Regions from separate parts of the Homo sapiens genome. Here all the other regions are linked to region 4. The links are contacts of gene promoters, found by promoter capture Hi-C in blood cells and fetal thymus (Javierre and others, 2016). All regions are on one chromosome and are shown on one strand. The core of a region is centred on a gene start or on the middle of the fragment in contact, and the rest is flanking DNA. Distances in the headings are between cores, read along the strand shown. Region 1 overlaps JOSD1 (Josephin domain containing 1). Region 2 overlaps FAM227A (family with sequence similarity 227 member A). Region 3 overlaps FAM227A (family with sequence similarity 227 member A). Region 4 holds the start of PICK1 (protein interacting with PRKCA 1).

Region 1 (4,938 bases), core at 2,153-4,652, 640 kb after region 4:
TCCTCTGTGGTAGAGAATGCTAATTGTTCACCAATATCCCCAATCTCTTTGCTCCTTCCAACTTTCATTAGATTTTTTTCCCTTGATACCAAGCTACTTTTTGCCTAGTTTTTTTTTTTTTTTTTTTTTGAGATAAGGTCTCACTCTTTTGCCCAGGCTGGAATGCAGTGGCACGAACATGGCTCACTGCAGCCTCGACCTCCTGGACTCAAGCCATCCTCCTATCTCAGCCTCCCAAGTAGCTGGACTACAGGCGCGAGCCCCCATGCCTAGCTAATTTTTAAATTTTTTGTAGAGATAGGGTCTCACTATGTTGCACGGGCTGGTCTCAAACTGCTGGACTGAAGCCATCCACCCAACTCGGCCTCCCAAAGTGCTGGGATTACAGGCATAAGCCACCAAGCCCAGCCGTGGTTAAATTTTAATATTAAATATCCAAGGCCGGGCACGGTGGCTCACGCCTGTAATCCCAGCACTTTGGGAGGCCAAGGTGGGTGGATCACGAGGTCAGGAGTTTCAGACCAGCCTGGCCAACATGGTGAAACCCCGTCTCTACCAAAAATACTAAAATTAGCCGGATGTGGTGGCGGGCGTCTATACTCTCAGCTACTCAGGAGGCTGAGGCAGGAGGATTCCTTGAACCCAGAAGGCGGAGGCTGCAGTGAGCCCAGATCACGCCACTGCAATCCAGCCTAGGCAGACAGAGCAAGACTCCGTCTCGGGTGGGGGGAAAAATCCTATTTGGGAGAGGAATGCAGAACTAGATGTAAGAATCTGATCACTAAAAAACTGGGATGAGTCTAGTGAAAATGTTTCAGGCCTGAGCATTTTCAAAACCACCTAGCAAAGCTGCCATCATGTAATTTGATTTCTATGACCCTTTTTTTCAAACCTTATACCCCCCCTTTTTTTTTTTGAGAGATGGGAGTCTCACTCTGTTGCCCACACTACAGTACAGTGGTGCGATCTTGGCTCACTGCAACCTCTACCTCCTGGGTTCAAGTGATTCTCCTGCCTCAGTTTCCCGAGTAGCTGGGACTACAGGCGTGTGCCATCACCCCAGCTAATTTTTGTTTTTTTTAATAGAGACATGGTTTTGCTATATGTTGGCCAGGCTGGTCTCAAACTCCTAACCTCAGGTGATGTGCCCACCTCTGCCTCCCAGAGTGCTGGGATTACATGCGTGAGCCACCGTGCCTGGCCCACATTCTTTATATAAAATGATGAGATCTAATATCTACATCTGTATACATATACACTGATGACACTTGCCCAGTTTATCTTTTCTCCAATTTCACAGGTTGAAAACAGATGCTTTTTAAACAAATGACCTCTTTTTGCAGATGTTACCACTATGTTCAAATCCTGGACCAAGCCTCTGACACACCTGACTCCTCTCTTCCTGTCCTTGTTGCCGCCATGTTGAGTCATTAGCTCAGCTCTGAGTTCCTATTCACTTGTAAGCATGAATCATCTCACATCCACAACTCTATTGAAACTCCACCCTGCTTTTGTATTTTGCTTCTTTTTTCTGGCTAAAATTCAACTGCTAGGATGAACTTCCTCTCAACAAATAGTGCTTATCAACATTTCCCTCCCATTTCTACCATTCACTAGCCACACTTTTAAACAGCATAGAATTATATCTGCTAAGGTCCAAATTGATCACTTTTCACTTTTTAATTGCTCTGAATGCCAGGGTTCTAACTTCACTTAAATCTAGTCTCAAGGCCTGGTTAAAGCATAGCTGAGATGTGCTTCTCAGGGGCTGAGGCCTGTTCGACTCGTTTTCTCTATGGTGCCTCATAGTGCCTGGCACTCTGCAGGCAGCTAGTCAATGTTTGTTTAAAAAATTCCATCTTCTCTCCCTCACCTCTTCTCCCTTTGCTTTTTCCTCTAGATTCCTTTCACACTTCTGTATTTTTTGTTCCTACCTACTCATACATTCTTTCAATATAAAATACTCTACACAGAATTCCACTTCTGGAGTTGGGACAGAATACATGCCCTTATGTGCTGGCTTGCCAGCACTTTTTGGATCTTTATATTATGCTGCTAGAATTGGGGAATGCAGTACAATTTGCTAAAGCTTCAAAAGGAATAGGATCTTAGTTCCATGTGGGCATTTAGCAAATATTTAGCATTCTTGTATTCAGGAGAACAAAGCTGAGAAACTCTTGTTATCATCCACACACACTTGATGAGCACAGTCCAGAACGTCAGTGCTGGCCCAGCTCAGCAGCTGGAGGAACAGCTACTGATAGCACTCTACAGGCGCTTCCAGTACTCGAGAAACAGGAGAGCGGTTAGCGGGGCAGGTTCTAGAGTCAAAAGGCGTGGGGCCAAATTCTGCCATCAATAGCTGTGAACTCTGTGCCATGATTTCCTCAACTGGAAAAATGGGCAGCAACAGAATCCATCTTGGAAGATCAGTGTGAGGACTGAGTGGACACAAGGAAAGCACTCAGAACGGTGCTTTGCACCAAGTGTTCATGTGTGTTAGTGATCCTATCATTATTCCCATAGTCAGATCAGGGGCCAAATGTACAGAAGTGAAAACTTTTCTACCAGAGTGTGACTGGATACACAGAATCTTGTTTCTGGAATTTATTTACTAGTAGGTGAAACTGGGCAAATCGCCTAAAATGAATCCTAGTTTCCTAAGTTCATCACTGATAAGGTTGTTGCAAGATTGTTCATACATATCACAAAGTACTAAGCCATTGAGGTACTCACCCTGAGTCCTTTCCTTCTCCCTAGTTTTAGCTCAGGAAATAATTTGCAAATATCTGATTAGGAGTAGGAGAAATACTAATGGCTGGCCAAAAGGAAGCATGTACTGGGTCCTCCTTTCAGTGACATGACCTGATGATCTGAGACGAATTATTTTATCTCCCAGTGCCCCAGGTCCTGAAGAGTCAATTCTACTTGCTGCCAGATAATGGCCATGATGCAAATGATATATTAGCTCTGGTAAGGCATTACTCTGGTTACTACTGGCATTGGAAAATAATTACTCTCATTATAGTTTTGTCTGCATCTGGGGATTAACATTCTCCTAAGAGTAGGCCTTTGGCTCTTTCAGGGCAAATGGTCCATACCTGTGTTTTACAAATCACCCCAAATAGGTTGCTTCCAGCTGTAATTCTGGTCCCTATGTGGCAACAATTTCACTTCCAAGCTAAGAGAGTAAGAAAAAGGTCTTCTGGAATTGCTAATATGCACTGCTTGAAGAATGCTTGAGCTTCTCTGCAGCGAGGACTGCGCGGGCCTAACTACTTCTAGTCGGGGTCATCAGGCAAGATCATCACCTGAGTTGCTATGGACTGCAGCCATGCTGTTGTGTCCATTAAGACACCACAGAACTGACTCTCAAAACCTTTAATAAAGTAATTCTAGAAAATCAAAGCAAAGAGAAAAAAGCTGAACTTCTTTTTTTGTTTTTCCGAGACCCGTCACCCAGGCTGGAGTGCAGAGTGGTGCAATCTTGGCTCACTGCAACCTCCACTTCCCAAGTTTATGCGATTCTCCTGCCTCAGCCTCCCGACTAGCTGGGACTACAGGCGTGCACCACCACACCGGGCTAATTTTTGTATTTTTAGTAGACACGGGGTTCCACCATGTTGGACAGGCTGGTCTCAAACTCCTGAACTCAGGTGATCTGCCCTCCTCGGCCTCCCAAAGTGCTGGGATTACACCGTACTTGGCCAAAACCTGAACCTCTATTAACCTGTGGGGTGGCATTTGTTCTAAGTGGGTAAGAAAGGCCATCTAGAATAAAGGAGAAAGAAGAGATCTGGAGTCAACTTCAAATTATAGCTTTGCTATTTAGAAGCTATTTGGACATATTACCTGACCTTTCTGCCTATCAGCATAATACAGGCAGTGAAATGACTGTTGGGAGAGCTTCACAAAGCAATGTACGAACAGCACTACTGCCAGCACATGGCCTCACAGAAAAGCTGAGCATTGTTTATACATCTTGCTTGTGGTACCCACCACATTCCACCTTTAAAGACAGGTGACTGAACGTGTACGTATCTAGTCCCACTTCTAGACTGTAAACTCCTCGGCAGCAGAGCTTTACAGGCATTATAGCATAGTGGTCAACAGCATAGATATAAGAATTCAACCCCAGCTCCAAGTCTTGTTATCTTGGGCGAGGTACTGAACTAAATGTGTCTTCATCAGTAAAATGGAAATAACATCACATATTAACACGTATTCCACGGGACTGTTGAAGATCACTCAAGAAAACACAGCTGAGGCTATGAGTACTTTCCTAGCCCACCGTAAGTGCCTGATAAATGGTAGTGATTATCTTTTCATGTCTTGTGTCCCTTATACCTGCTAACGCAATCTAGCTAATACCTACAGCTTTGAAGGTTTATGAAGCTGAGACACTGCCCCACCCACAGAAATCCAGAAATATCAGTATCAAGATGCCAAGGAGAAGGGTCCCCTACCTCTGGAAAATCTCTTGCAGCGTATCCCGGGTGAAGGCATTGCTGTCCTGGAAGACGTTATTGAGGGCGTGGAGGGCACAAAGCTCCCTGCGCTGTTTCTCATGGTAGATTTGTGGGGGTGCTGCCTGGGGCAGCTCCAATGATTCAGATTTGGCCTTGTCTCCTTTCCATGGCACACAACTCATGTTTTTTGTTTTAGGTTCCAGAGATGGCTATAAACACCCCACTCTTCCCTCTAGAGGAAGAATGTAAGCTTCTCAGTCTTTTCCGGATTCCTGAGGTCCACCTTATTCTCTGGTGTCCATGATTTATGCTTTGTCACTGGGAGAAAAGATTGGAATCAAAAGGAAAAAAATAAAACCCACCTCTTCTCTCTTCTCAATAGAAAAATAACTTTTGGATTACTTTTATTTTGCTACCACTGTCAAAGTGCAGAATTTAAAAAAACACATAAAATGTAAGACCTTGTTTC
Region 2 (4,573 bases), core at 1,607-4,106, 560 kb after region 4:
AAAAAAAAAAAAATAATAAGTTCTGGAGTGAAAGGGAGCAAAAGATGGGGATGTGGAGTCAAGATAAGAGATGATGAAAGCACGGCTGTTCAGTGATGGGAATGACCCCACAGAATGGGAGGAAATGAAGATGCAGGAAAGAGGGGCGCTAAGGGCATCTCTACTTGGGAAGCTGAGGGCCAAGGTTCAGAACACAGGCTGGGGACTGACCTGGGAGGGGAGCAGGACCTCTCCATAGGCACAGAGATGGCAGATGGCGAGGGTGCAGAGGGGGGCAGGCTGTCTTGGTGGTGGGAAGGCACGGGCCTTCCTGCTGACTGCTTGTGATTTCTCAGTGAAGACCTTCCCTGGGTGGTGCTGGGGAGGAGGGCAGGTGGGGAAGGACACGCTGCAGGGGAAGTGTTTCGAAGGTGGGAGAATCTGGGCATGCTAGGGCAGTACAGTGGTGCGGCCAGGCAGCACTGAGTGCCCTTCTGAGCTGTGGGGCCGCACAGTCTTCAGAATGTCTGCAAGAAGGCACCATGGTTGTTGTATCTATTTTATACCCATAGAAACAAAGTCTTAGGGAAGTCAAATAACTTGCCTAAGGCCACACAGATGGAATCTGAACCTGTGAGAACAGACTTTTTTTTTTTTTTTTTTTTTGAGACAGAGTCTTGCTCCGTCACCAAGGCTGGAGTGCAGCGGCACGATCTCAGCTCACAGCAACCTCCGCCTCCCGGGTTAAAGCAAATCTCTTGCCTCAGTCTCCCGAGTAGCTGGGACTACAGGTGTGTGCCACCACACCCAGCTAATTTTTTGTATTTTTAGTAGAGATGGGGTTTCACCGTGTTAGCTAAGATGGTCTCGATCTCCTGACCTTGTAATCCGCCTGCCTTGGACTCCCAAAGTGCTGGGATTACAGGCGTGAGCCTCCACACCCGGCCGGAGGAGGCTGTCTTAATGAATTAAGCCTCCAATGCCATTTGTTAAGGAAGCATGTCATTAGAAATGGGGCATTCAGGTACTAGAAGTGGGAATGTTGTCCTAGGGTTTAAAGATTAGCGGGGAGGCTGGGCCTGGTGGCTCACCTATAATTGAAGCACTTCAGGAGGCTAAAGTAGGAGGATTGCTTGAGCTAGGAGTTCAAGACCAGCCTGGGCAACATAGCAAGACTTCTCTATTAAAAATTCATGGTGACATGTTCCAGCTACTCAGGAGGTTGAGGCAGTAGGATTACTTGAATCCAGGAGGACGCCACAGCACTCTGGCCTGGGCAACAGAGTGAGACCCTGTCTCTAAAAGAATAAACCAATTAAAAAAAAGATTAGCAGGGGAAACAGCCATGATCAGAGTAATAACCAAATAATTACATGAGTGCTCTGAAGGAAAGGGACATTGGCCTGTATAATAAGGAACATCATCCAGCCCAGAGGGGCAGAAAGCTGACCCTGAGGATGAGAGTGAAGGGGGTTAGAATCTGCCATCCCAAAATAGGCCACTTTGCATAGGAATTATTTTGAGCTGAAGGCAATTGAAAAACAGCAGATGCAGGAAATCTCTTTACAATTCCAGTTTCCATCTAAAAGCAGAGCATAAATTTTCCTTTGTGAAGGTGTCCCCACTTCCCATCTCCAGTACCAGGAAGAAGAGACAACTCATCACTGGAGATGGCACCCCTTGAATCTGCATATAGAAATCTTATTGAAAGAATCCTTATCTTCCATTAGTTTCTCCCATATATTTACCTTCCCACAATTTACCATCCCCAGAAGCCTAAACCTCTTTTCCTTTGTCTTGTCACATCTCCACAATTAATTGCTCTTTGTTAGGGTGGTATGTGAACTATCAGACCTAGCCACTTCCTTGAGGTTTTCGCTTTCTTCCAATGAAGTCCTGTGTCATGTAAAAATACTAACATCAAATAAAATTTGAATGCCTTTCTCCTGTTAAACTGTCTATCTTTTGTCAGTTTAACTTGTAGGGCTCCATACACTTTGCCTCAGAGGGTAGATAAAAGGTTTTTTTCCCTCCCTACAAGAATCTGAACTGAGATGGAAGGATGACTATATATCTCCTAGACCAGGGGTTAGCAAACTTTTTCTGCAAAAAGCCAGATGATAAATATTCGGCTTTGCAGGTCCTAAAGTCTCTATCGCAAGTACTCAACTCTGCTGTTTCAGTGTGAAGGTAGTTGTAGACAATAGTAAATGAATGGCCATGGCTGTGTGCCAATAAAGCTTTATTTTCAAAAACAGGCAGTGAAAGGTCTGATTCATAGTTTGCTAAACCCTGCCCTGGGATTTTTTTTTCCAGCTCTTCAGAAAAAAAAAAAAAAAAGCCTTTATTTGTGGCATTTGGTTAACTGCATGCTATCAATGTCTCTGGACTTGGGGGTTGGGAGGAAATGCTGACAGTGACAATGGCAATGGTGATAGGAGCTTACCTGGGACAAGAAGAACAGGAGGTACAGAGGCCACATACAGAAAGGGAGTGTGGTATACAAGGAAATAAAAGAAGTCCCCTGAGGCAGGACCCCTGAGAGCCCAGGAGGTTGGAGAAGGGGTTGAGCCAGATGAGCAAGGCTGTGCAAGTCAGTCTACTAAAGGCCAGAGGAAGCATTCTGGGGTGTGGAGGGTGTCATTTTATTGGCTAGAAGTAGGATCTTATTTATTTATTTATTTATTTATTTTTGAGACAGAGTCTTGCCCTGTTACCCAGGCTGCAGTGCAGTGGTGTGATCTCAGCTCTCTGCAACCTCTGCCTCCCGGGTTCAAGCAATTCTTGTGCCTCAGCCTCCTGAGTAGCTGGGACTACAGGTGCATGGCACCAAGCCTGGCTAATTTTTGTATTTTTAGTAGAGACGAGGTTTCACCATGTGGACCAGACTGGTCTTGGACTCCTGGTCTCAAGTGATCTGCCTGCCTTGGGCTCCCAAAGTATTGGGATTATAGGCGTGAGTCACTGTGCCTGGCCTGGAAGTAGGGTTTTTAGGGTCGGGGGATAGGATAGGGTCAGGTGGTGATGGGATGATGTACTTAGCTTTGCACTTTGAAAAGATGGCCCTAGAAGTATCTGAGAACCTGAGGGAGACCAGTTAGGTGCCTACTGCAGTAGTGATGGGAGCTCAAACTAGGGTGGTGGGAGTGGAAAAGTGAGAAACAGGTGGTTCTGGGAGGTACATCAGAAGGAACATCAATAGGGCAGAGGAGAAAGTACGTATCAGGGATGACTGCTAGGTTTCAGGTTTGCCATGAGGATTAGTGGAGAAAAAAAAATAAGTAAAAGCATCTTGCACTGCAGCCTACACTGAAAACCTGGTTCCTTCCCTCTCTCTTCTCAATCGCTGCATTTCTGTGAATGCCCCTTAGTATGCCACTTAGCCACTTACCCATGGGAGACCTGGAGGCCTCCCAGGGCTCCTCACTTAGAAGATGGAGTGGACCTGGGCAAGGGGTACAGAGATGTGCAACTAACCGGAGGCCACTGATGCTCCAGAAGAACCGAGGGTTCCTGAAGCTTATGGGACTCCAAAGGGGTCCTGGTCCGTGCCTCCCCACTTACCTGAGGGTGGTAGAATTTCCTGCTCTGGGCTGGCTTCTGGGAGAAGGCTCTCTTACCAGCAAACAAAGAAAACTCTCTCCCTATAGAAGGGGAAAAGCTGTTATTAATTCCTCTTGTCATGGGACAATGAAGATTGTAGCCCAGGAGCTTGAGACAGCCTCCTTTCTGGAGACAGTGACACCCACCAGATCTAGGGTCTCTCTGTTGACTCCACCTGCTGGGCAAGTTACCTAACCCTGGTCCTGTTAGACTGTGAACACTATCTCCCTCTAGGGTGAATGCACCAATTAAAGGAAATAATGTATGCACAGGGCCGGCGCGGTGGCTCACGCCTGTAATCCCAGCACTTTGGGAGGCCGAGGCGGGCGGATCACGAGGTCAGGAGATCGAGACCATCCTGGCTAACACGGTGAAACCCTGTCTCTACTAAAAAAAAAAATACAAAAAATCAGCCGGGCATGGTGGCGCGCGCCTGTAGTCCCAGCTACTCGGGAGGCTGAGGCAGGAGAATAGTGTGATCCTGGGAGGTGGAGCTTGCAGTGAGCCGAGATTGCGTCACTGCACTCCAGCCTGGGTGACATAATGAGACTCCGTCTCAAGAAAAAAAAGAAAAAAAAAGTATGCACAGCTCTGTGCATAGGGCAGACACTCAACCCACAGGAAAAAAAGGACTGGTTTCAGAAGAAAAACCAATTCAGAGCTCTGCAAAATTAAAATGCTTAAATGCTTAAGAAACAATCTATCAAACTCATAGCTGTTAAATTTAATATTCATTAAAATGTCATTAAACTCAAGCAATTTATGGGTTAGGTTTTTCTTCACTTTGAAAAAACTCCCTGAGTCGGCCGGGCATGGTGGCTCACGCCTATAATCCCAGCACTTTGGGAGGCCAAGGTGGGTGGATTGCTTGAGCTCAGGAGTTTGAGACCAGCCTGGGCAACATGGTGAAACCCTGTCTCACCCTGTATTTTTGTACTAAAAATACAAAAATTAGCTGGTGTGGTGGAGCATGCCTGTAATCCCAGCTACT
Region 3 (4,711 bases), core at 1,604-4,103, 590 kb after region 4:
AAATCTGTTCAGTTCTATGGCCCCTCTTCCTACCCTCTCAGCTTTTATATTTCTTTCTGTCTTAGCCTCAATTGATCTAGGATATATCCTTTGTAAAACCCCCATAATCCTATCACCCCTCACTCCCTTCACATAAAGCAAGGTTCACTCTTACTTTCATTACCCTCAAGTGTTCTTACAAATTGGAGGATACTTGAAAAAGGAAGATACCAAGAAGGGACATGACAAATCACAGCAGGTAAAATGGACTTCTTAGGTGTGGGATTAAGAAGAAAGAGGGGACATTAGAAAGCAGCCCTGCAAAGTGAGACCCTGAAGCAAATTCTGATGGGATCACACTTTGCCTCATCTTAAGAAGGGCTTCTGAGAGGCAAGGAAGGTGAGGGGGGCAGAGTGGTACATGCAGCTGAGCTGGCAGGATGGCTTGAAGGTAAATGAGCTCCACAGGAGATGGAAAGACCTGGGGTTATTTATAGTCCGAGAGGGTTATTTACTGGACGAGCTGTAAGGTCCTCCAGAGATGGAGTTCTGTGACCCTGGAATACAACTCAGGGTCAGAAGTGAGAAGAGGATGAACGAAGACAGGGCCAGGGCAGTAAGATGCTGGTAGAGCCTGGACGATGCCAGAAGGAGCAGATTTGGGGCCAGGGAGAAGGGCTGGCAGGTGAGAAGAGGCAAGGTCAACTTGATTAAAAAAAAAAAAAAAAAAAGGCTGGGTGCAGTGGCTCATGCCTGTAATCCCAAGCACTTTGGGAGGCTGAGGCAGGCGGATCACCTGAGGTCAGGAGTTCGAGACCAACCTGACCAACATGGAGAAACCCTGTCTCTTCTAAAAATACAAAATTAGCCAGACGTGGTGGCACATGCCTGTAATCCCAGCTACCTGGGAGGCTGAGGCAGGAGAACTGCTTGAACCCGGGAGGTGGAGGTTGCAGTGAGCCGAGATCATGCCACTGCACTCCAGCCCGGGCGACAGAGTGAGACTCTGTCTCAGAAACAAACAAACAAAATATTTAAAGAACTCTTAAAAACTCGACAGTAAGAAAATACACAACCTGATTTAAAAATGGGCTAAAGGTTGGGTGCGGTGGCTCACGCCTGTAATCCCAGCACTTTGGGAGGCTGAGGTGGGTGGACCACCTGAGGTCAGGAGGTCGAGACCAGCCTGACAAACATGGTGAAACCCCGTCTCTACTAAAAATACAAAAATTAGCCAGACGTGGTGGTGGGTGCCTGTAATCTCGGCTACTTGGGGGCTGAGGCAGAAGAATCCCTTGAACCTGGGAGGCAGAGGTTGCAGTGAGCCGAGTCTATGCCACTGCACTCCAGCCTGAGCAACAGAGTGAGACTCTGTCTCAAAAAAAAAAAAAAGAAAAAGCTGGGTTTCATGCTCATCTGTCTGAGGGTGGAGGGTTGCACCACAATTTCTTAGTTGCTATCAATAACATCTATAATTCTTTGGGAGATAGAAGGGAAAGATGGCAACCACTTTTTAAAATTAGCTTTTAAAATATTCTTCCCCATTCTTTCCACAAATACTTCCAGAGCTTCTTCCTTTGGGGCTCTTTCTGATTATGTTAGTAAAAAATACTGGAGTCAAACAGTCCTTCACAGTCTCAAATTCTTTTAGAGGATGGGTAGAGTTTAAGTAATTGAAAAAATGTATCTGGCCAGATGCGGTGGCTCATGCCTGTAATCCCAGCACTTTGGGAGGTCAAGGCGGGCAGATCACCTGAGGTCAGGAGTTCAAGACCAGCCTGGCCAACATGGTGAAACCCCATCTCTACTAAAAATACAAAAAATTAGCTGGACATGGTGACAGGCGCCTGTAATCCCAGCTACTCGGGAGGCTGAGGCAGGAGAATCACTTGAACTTGGGAAGTGGAGGTTGCAGTGAACTGAGACTGCACCACCGCACTCCAGCCTGGGCAACAGAGTGAGACTCTGTCTCAAAAAAAAAAAAGGAATATGGCTGGGCGAGGTGGCTCATGACTGTAATCCCAGCACTTAGGGAGGCCGAGGCAGGTGGATCACTTGAGGTCCGGGGTTCAAGACCAGCCTGGCCAACATGGTGAAACCCCATCTCTACTAAAAATATAAAATATTAGCCAGGTGTGGTGGCAGGCACCTGTAATTTCAGCTACTCAGGAGGCTGAGGCAGGAGAACTGCTCGAACCTGGGAGGTAGAGGTTGCAGTGAGCTGGGACTGTGCCACTGCACTCCAGCCTGGGTAACAGTGTGAAACTCCATCTCAAAAAAAAAAAAGAAAGAAAAGAAAAGAAAAAATGAATGTATAAGGGACAAGCTAATAAGTAATGTGCATTATAGACCTGAGCACTGATTAGATCTCTGTGGCATGACTCAAGTTAGGTGTATTTGGTCTGATTGTAGGTGACATCACCAGAAGGATACAGGGTGGATTGTTCTCTAACTCCTTCCTCACAGTCTTCACCATTGTATTCCGTGCGACAAGCGAGACAGCCAGGTGCTCATCCACTGGTATCATAGGTAGGGTGGTGAGGTTGATGACCTCCATCTTCCTGAAGTGATTCATTGTCCAATTTCTTGTAAATGGACAAACAAAAAGCTTCCACTTTTAAGAGCCTCTCATTTCCCACTCCAATCTTGTCGTTTGTTTAATCAGCCTCCTGGAAATCATAAACAGCATAGAGCCAGCTCAGAAAACACAAGAAGAAAAGCCCAACCATGTTCCCCAGCTACACAGGGTTGATGGCAAAGCACATGTCCCATGCCTGCATGGGGAATGAAAGGGTTCCGTCTGAGAAGCCTATTCTTAAATGAGGATTTCAAGGTATATGGACTTGTTCTTCCAATGTCTGATGCCTGACTCTCCCTCTGCCCCTCCCCCATGATGAAAATTGTTCTAGTTTTAAAAATAAGGAAACTAGAATGCGGAAAAGGCCAGGGCTCCAGACTACTCCAGACCACTCAGCAAGTCAGTTCCCAAACGAGAAATGAAATCAGATCTCTTTGCTTCTCTGAGTCCCAACTCTAAAAGAGATTTGGATTAGGTGACCCTAAGGCTCTCTCCAGCTTTCCGATGCTGTGATTCTAGAATAAGGGGTCCATCTCCTCAGCGCGAGGCTCCTGATCAACCTGAAGCTTTCTGCTCCCTCTCAGAAAACTGGCCCCAACCCTACTCTTCCTCCTTGGCTCTGCAACACTCTGGTCTAACAGCTCTCCTGGGTCCTTGCTTGTTGGCCAGGAACCCATTACTTCCATCTGTGGGCCCTCTATGTCCAGAGTCTAGTGTGATAGGCCTCGTTATAATACAGCAAAAGACTTAGATCCTGCCCTCTAGAAGCTCATACATAACGGAAGGACAGAGAAAACGTTGAGTTTGGTGGGAACATGAACTCAAATGCCCTTTCACCATACTCTCCTTCCCTCTCCTCCGGTTCAGGCCTTTGCTCCATCTTCTCCACAGACATGCATCTTACATGCCAGACCCGCAGAACTTCTTCCTGCTCCCTGACCACACAATGCTCTTCCTACCTCTATGCCTTTCCAGATGTGGTTCCCTCTGTTGGACTACGCCCAGGTGACATATCTGTGGAAACCTTCTCAAATAATTCCAAGCCATTAGCACCATGCCTCCTCTGCAAAGCCCAAGGTTCTGCATTCATCTATCACAGGACTCACAATAGTGAACTGGAATGATTTGCTTCTACTGCTTTCTCCACTAGGCAAATTATGGATTAACTGTGATTCCTTTTAGACTTACCATGGTTTTTTGTTTGTTTGTTTGTTTGTTTTGAGACAGCGTCTTGCTCTGTCGTCCAGACTGGAGTGCAGTGGCGCGATCTTGGCTCACTCACTGCAGCCTTGACATCCTGGATTCAAGCCTCCCGTGTAGCTGCGACTACAGGTACCTGCCACCCACAACTGCCTAATTTTTGTATTTTTAGTAGAGATGGGGTTTCACCATTTTGGCCAGGCTGGTCTCGAACTCCTGACCTCAGGTGATCCACCCACCTTGGCCTCTCAAAGTGCTGGGATTACAGGCGTGAACCACCACTCCCAGCCCCTTCTGAATATTTCATACCATTTTAGGTATTCTCTGAAACATGGTAAGTTTTTACTGCCATTACTTGGGGAGGATAAAAGGAGAGGGAAGAAAACTAGCTTCCTTAAATATCTACCCTGTGGCAAGCAATATGATGTGCTGGGGGCAGGGCAGAAGAGTGGAAGAGTAAGAAACCTTCTGCCCTCATGGAGCACACATTCTGGCAGTCAAGATTCAAATGCCCTGTTTAAAGTTAACATATTTGGGCTGGGCGTGGTGGGTCACGCCTGTAATCCCAGCACTTTGGGAGGCCGAGGCAGGCGAATCATGAGGTCAAGAGTTCGAGACCAGCCTGGCCAACGTGGTGAAACGCCATCTCTACTAAAATACAAAAATTAGCTGGGCATGGTGGCAGGCCCCTGTAATCCCAGCTACTAGGGAGGCTGAGGCAGGAGAATCGCTTGAACCTGGGAGGTGGAGGTTGCAGTGAGCTGAGATCATGCCACTGCATTCCAGCCTGAAAGACAGAGTAAGACCCTGTCTCAAAATAAATAAATAAAGTTAACATATTTGATGCTTCTCAGAAGAGGCGATATGAAAAAAAGAAAAATTAAAATAACAAAAAAGTTAATATATTTGAGCATATAAAAACAACGCTGACTTTAGGCCAGGCGCAGTGGCTCA
Region 4 (4,916 bases), core at 1,399-3,898:
GGCATGGTGGTGGGCGCCTGTAATCCCAGCTACTCAGGAGGCTGGGGCAGGAGAATCGCCTGAACCCGGGAGGCAGAAGTTGCAGTGAGCTGAGATCGCACCACTTAACTCCAGCCTGGGCGACAAGAGGGAGACTCCATCTCAAAGAAAAAAAAAAAGAAAGAAAGAAAAGAAAAGAAAAGAAAAAAATTGCAAAAATTAGCCAGGCGTAGCTATGAGCTGTAAGCCCCAAATTTAAAGGGGATAAAAACCTTGCCAGACAAAATACAAGCATGTAATAAATTAATCACTGCAGAATTGGCTCAGGAAAACCATGAAGAGATTTCACAAGGCAAATACACAGCAAATTGCTGAACAAATGATTCAAATAGCAACTGCTCAGGAGCTCAGCTCAGAAAAGGGAGCAAGATATATGAGCTGAGATTGTCTGCTAAGGCTGCCGGGAAGAGGTGAATTAGAGCGGAGCCTGCAGGCAAGGGATGAACAAGGCAGAAAACAGGGGCATCTTCCCCAACCTGAGAAGAAGGGCCAGAGTGGGTAGGGGGTTTTGAGGTCAGAGTGACAGCTGTGCCATGCAAATTGTTTACAAAGCACTCACACCTGTTTCTCCTTTTAATCTTTTGTTTCTGAGATGGAGTCTGGCTCTGTCACCCAGGCTGGCATGCAATGGCGCGATCTCGGTTCACTGCAATCTCCGCCACCCGGGTCCAAGCGATTCTCCTGCCTCAGTCTCCTGAGTAGCTGGGATTACAGGTGCATACCACCATGCCTGGCTAATTTTTGCATTTTTAGTAGAGACGGGGTTTCACCATGTTGGCCAGGCTGGTCCAGATATATGATCTAGATCTTATACCAACTCCTGATCTCATGATCCACACTCCTCAGCCTCCCAAAGTGCTGGGATTACAGGCGTGAGCCACCGCGCCCAGCCTCTCCTTTTAATCTTGACTTTCACAAATACCTGGTGGCAGGTGTCATTTCCCCATTCTACACGTACCTGAGGCTCAGAGTGAGACAGCGACTCACCCAAGATCTCCCAGCTACAAAATGGCAGAGCCTGGGCCTGAGCTAGCATGGTCATGGGCTGGAAGAGCCACAATCCATGTTAAGGCACCTGGGTTTGGAGACTGCTGCCTTTTTTTTTTTTGAAACGGAGTCTCTCTCTGTCGCCCAGGCTGGAGTGCAATGGCCTGATCTCGGCTCACTACAACCTCCCTCTCCTATTTTCAAGCGATTCTCCTGCCTCAGGCTCCCAAATAGCTGGAATTACAGGTGTGCGCCACCGCACCTGGCCTTAGACTGCTGCTTTTTGAAACCAAAATTCTGGCCTGGAAACAGAGCTTGGTTTTCCCAGCCCCAGCCCTGCCGCTATGATACCAGAGGAAGAGGCTTCCCAGGGCCTCCGTTTCCTTGCCTGCACAATGTGGCTGGCAAGATTTGGTCTTCTCTCACAGGGTGGTGGTGAGCTTTCAAATCCTGTGAAAGTGATCTCACAGGAGAGCAGTGGACACGTGGGAAGGCTGTTATTGTCACGGCATTCTGCACATCTGTCCGGACTCAATTAGCCACCTAAGGAGAGAGTAGGGCGGGGCTTCCACCGGCCGTGGGATATGTGGATAATCATCCTTCTGTATCTTTCTTCCATGGCTCCTGGGGCAGCTGGGGAAGCAAGCTGGATGGGCCTGGCCCCATGCTGCCGGATGAGGTGGATGCCTGGCTGTGGCTCTGGGAGAGCCAACCTCCCCCAGGGAACCCACTTTACACAATAGCAGTGGCAGCAGAGGCTGGCGAGGAGACAAGATTCGGACTCTGGGGAGCACTGATAGCATTTCCCGAGCCTCAGGTACATGCGGACCGTGACCCTCCCTGGGACCCCAGGGGGGCTGCTCCTCAGGACTAAGGAAGGAGGAGGGGGTGTGAGAAACCTTTCACCATATACCATAGAAAGCATTTACCTCAATGGCCTTGGTTTACATATGGGGAAACTGAGGCACATAAAGGGAAGGGAGCATGTCCAGTCTGTCCTTAATAGCAAGACCCACTGAATACACCTCTCCTGGCTCTCTGTTTAGTGTTTGGACGTTCAAAGATCCCTAGACTAGGCGGCGGGAGTTTCAGGGCCACGATCCAGATCTTACACCAACTGTGTGTGGCCCCGCACAAAATCACTCCCCGCTCTTTGGCACTTAAGTTGGCGAAACTGGGATGGGCTGGGACCTCAAAGGGCCATTCTAGTAGGGGAGTCACAGGCCCAGGTGGTGAAGGGGTGAAAGGGCATGATGTCTTGGGGTTTATAGTCCACTGAGCCTCGCCGGAGGTAACCCCGGCTCAGGGATGCTTTCGTTGCCATGGCAACCGCCGGGCCGGCGCGGGCCCCTGAGTGCAGCTGAGGAAGCTGGGACAAACCCTGCCCTTCCCAAGATGGCGGCGGCGGCAGGGCAAAGGGCGGGGTTAGACGCTGTCAGCCTGTCCAGACCGTTCCTCTGTTTTCGCTTGTTCCTACTAACAGCGAGCTTCCGCCAATACTTGTTCTCGTTCTTGGTTCCGAGCGTCCCGGGAGCCGGGAAGGGAAGGATTGTCTGCAGGGATTGGAGCAAATATCCAGTGGGGGGAAAGCCGGGACTTCCGCGTCTTGCCGGAAGTGACGTGACAATCGCGGCCACCGCCAGGTGGAACGGCAGGTGGGTTCAGGTACCAGCCTGGCCGGGACCCGGCTGTGGGACCAACGCTTCCGGTGAGCGACAGAGGCAGCTCCCCAGGGCCTGGAGACCCGTGGGGCGGACTCTGGGATCTGAGCCTATCGCCCTGGCCTGGAGCCCCCCTTTGTACCTAGTAAGAATCACCTACCCAGCCCCCCACCCGGAGACTGTCCCATCCCACTCCAGAGGGAAGAGGAGGGCACTGCTGTCCCGTATGAGGTGGTGGAGGGAGGGGTGGCGTTGGCATTTAGGCACTTGGGTTCCTTAAATCCTATGCTCCTTTCTCTCCCGGATCCAGTTCCCCATTCCCCTACCGAGCTGGGCAGTTAGCCAGCCCACTCCAACTCTCGGAACCATGTTTGCAGACTTGGATTATGACATCGAAGAGGATAAACTGTGAGTATTTTATTCCCCCAAGTTCCAGCAGTATAGGAGCCCCAAGTTCCTCATTTCCCTGGACTTCCCAGTCCCACAGACCCTTGCTTCTCAGCGGTGGATCAGTTGTTGTACTGAAGCAGCAATGGACCCTGCTCTCCCAGGAGCTCACTATTTGTAGGGGGCTGTGGACAGTTAAAGGGATAATCACAGCTCAGTGCCATAAGGGCACTATTAGCATGACTTGGTGACAAGAAGAGCAAAGCAGATGGAGCAGTGCTTCTGCTGGGATGGTCAAGGAAAGCTTCATGGAGGACGTAGCAATTGAACCAGGTTTTGAAGGTTGAATAGGAATATTGTAGACACCCTTCCTTCCCAACATAGGTTGTTAGTAGGACAGATTTTCCCATTAGAATATATCCTCTTTCAGATCAAGGAGTGGGTGCAATGCCTTTCTCTATGCTCAGCACTTAGTAAGGGACTTGACGTCAGTAGGTTGTTAGCGAATGTTTTTTGAATGAATAAGTGAATCAGCGTGAGTACTTATCATAAAACACCAGTCAATGCTAATTTATAGTGGAAACCGAGAGGTAATCGAGCAGTTGAGAGGTGGGAGGTGGACAGTTTAATAGAGGAAGACTCCCTGGAGTAGGTGGCCATCATACTACATAGATGCCTGATAAGGTGACAAGGACAGAACCTGGCTCAAATCTCAGAGATCGAATAAATGAAAGGGAAGGGGGACCTATTTTTATGGAGTGCCTGCTATGGACTGGGTTGCTGTTAGTGCCCTCCATGCATGGTTAGAAGAACTCTGATAAGGGTGCTCATCCACATTTTATGGATGAGGAAATTGAGATGCACAGAGGCTGACTTACCCAAGTCCCATAGCTGGCCAGGCACGGTGGCTCACGCCTGTAATCCCAGCACTTTGGGAGGCTGAGGCAGGCGGATCAACTGAGGTCAGGAGTTCAAGACCAGCCTGGCCAACATGGTGAAACCCCGTCTCTACTAAAAATACAAAAAAATCAGCCAGGCGTGGTGGCAGGCACCTGTAGTCCCAGCTACTTGGGCGACTGAGGCAGGAGAATCACTTGAACCCGGGAGGCGGAGGTTGCAGTGAGCCGAGATTGCGCCATTGCACTCTAGCCTGGGCAACAAGAGTAAGACTCCATCTCAAAAAAAAACCAAGTTCCACAGCTGATAAATGGCAGAGCTGGGGTTTGATCCCACATCTGCTTAACTCCAAGAGCTGTGCATGTTCCAGCACAAAATGTTGTTTTGTCCAAGGGAGGGAGAGAAAAAGCTGGGCAGCCAGTGGAGCCCCTCAGGAGTTTTAGAGGGCCCACCCGCTCCAGTCATCCTTCTGCCAGGAGAGTCAGCCTAGCTTGCTTTCCTTTCTAGCGGAATCCCGACTGTGCCTGGGAAGGTGACCCTGCAGAAGGATGCTCAGAACCTGATCGGGATCAGCATTGGAGGAGGGGCCCAGTACTGTCCCTGCCTCTATATCGTCCAGGTATTGGGCGCTTTGGAGGGGGGCACAAGGTACATCCCTACTTGGGCATGACAAAGGCAGGTTCATTTCTCCACACTGCATAGCTGACTCCTTCTCATTCTTGAGGTCTGACCCTCTCAGAGGGGCTTTCTGACCACCTGCGCTGCGTTGCTCTGCCCTGTCTTCTCCCCTGTGTCGCTCTGTTTTTTTCCTTCTCGGCACTTATTACTTGTTATTTGCCCTCTGTCTAGTAGAGTAGACTCTTTGCACTGAGGGCAGTGTCCTGGTTTGCTTTTTCACTGCAGTAAGCACCAGGTACAGTGCCTGGCACATAGTGGACATGCAAT

What was found. Contacts are between HindIII fragments. The CHiCAGO score rates a contact against its expected background, and 5 or more counts as called.
Region 1: a contact is called between a fragment that was not itself captured here and the fragment with the promoter of PICK1 in region 4, in 7 of 17 cell types (fetal thymus, M2 macrophages, endothelial precursors and 4 more). The highest score is 8.4, in fetal thymus.
Region 2: a contact is called between a fragment that was not itself captured here and the fragment with the promoter of PICK1 in region 4, in 3 of 17 cell types (M1 macrophages, M0 macrophages and endothelial precursors). The highest score is 6.6, in M1 macrophages.
Region 3: a fragment that was not itself captured here is called in contact with the fragment with the promoter of PICK1 in region 4 in 2 of 17 cell types (M1 macrophages and endothelial precursors); the score reaches 5.6 in M1 macrophages.

Annotation. Positions count from the first base shown.
Region 1 is chr22:38,695,337-38,700,274 of GRCh38, forward strand. JOSD1 (Josephin domain containing 1) reads right to left here. Exons shown (of 5, transcript NM_001360236.2): 2 at 4,467-4,938. The coding sequence starts at 4,651. Among named protein-coding and RNA genes, the nearest start is that of JOSD1, 3.1 kb to the right of the region's middle. The HindIII fragment of the contact is 2,630 bases long and covers 2,088-4,717 here.
Region 2 is chr22:38,616,669-38,621,241 of GRCh38, forward strand. FAM227A (family with sequence similarity 227 member A) reads right to left here. Exons shown (of 17, transcript NM_001013647.2): 11 at 3,544-3,623. Among named protein-coding and RNA genes, the nearest start is that of FAM227A, 37 kb to the right of the region's middle. The HindIII fragment of the contact is 1,279 bases long and covers 2,218-3,496 here.
Region 3 is chr22:38,647,615-38,652,325 of GRCh38, forward strand. FAM227A (family with sequence similarity 227 member A) reads right to left here. Exons shown (of 17, transcript NM_001013647.2): 2 at 2,413-2,648. The coding sequence starts at 2,554. Among named protein-coding and RNA genes, the nearest start is that of FAM227A, 6.4 kb to the right of the region's middle. The HindIII fragment of the contact is 536 bases long and covers 2,586-3,121 here.
Region 4 is chr22:38,054,756-38,059,671 of GRCh38, forward strand. PICK1 (protein interacting with PRKCA 1) reads left to right here and starts at 2,649. Exons shown (of 13, transcript NM_012407.4): 1 at 2,649-2,832; 2 at 2,998-3,095; 3 at 4,479-4,590. The coding sequence starts at 3,055. RefSeq lists enhancers at 2,101-2,726, 2,423-2,482, 2,727-3,350. The HindIII fragment of the contact is 5,557 bases long and covers 1-3,376 here.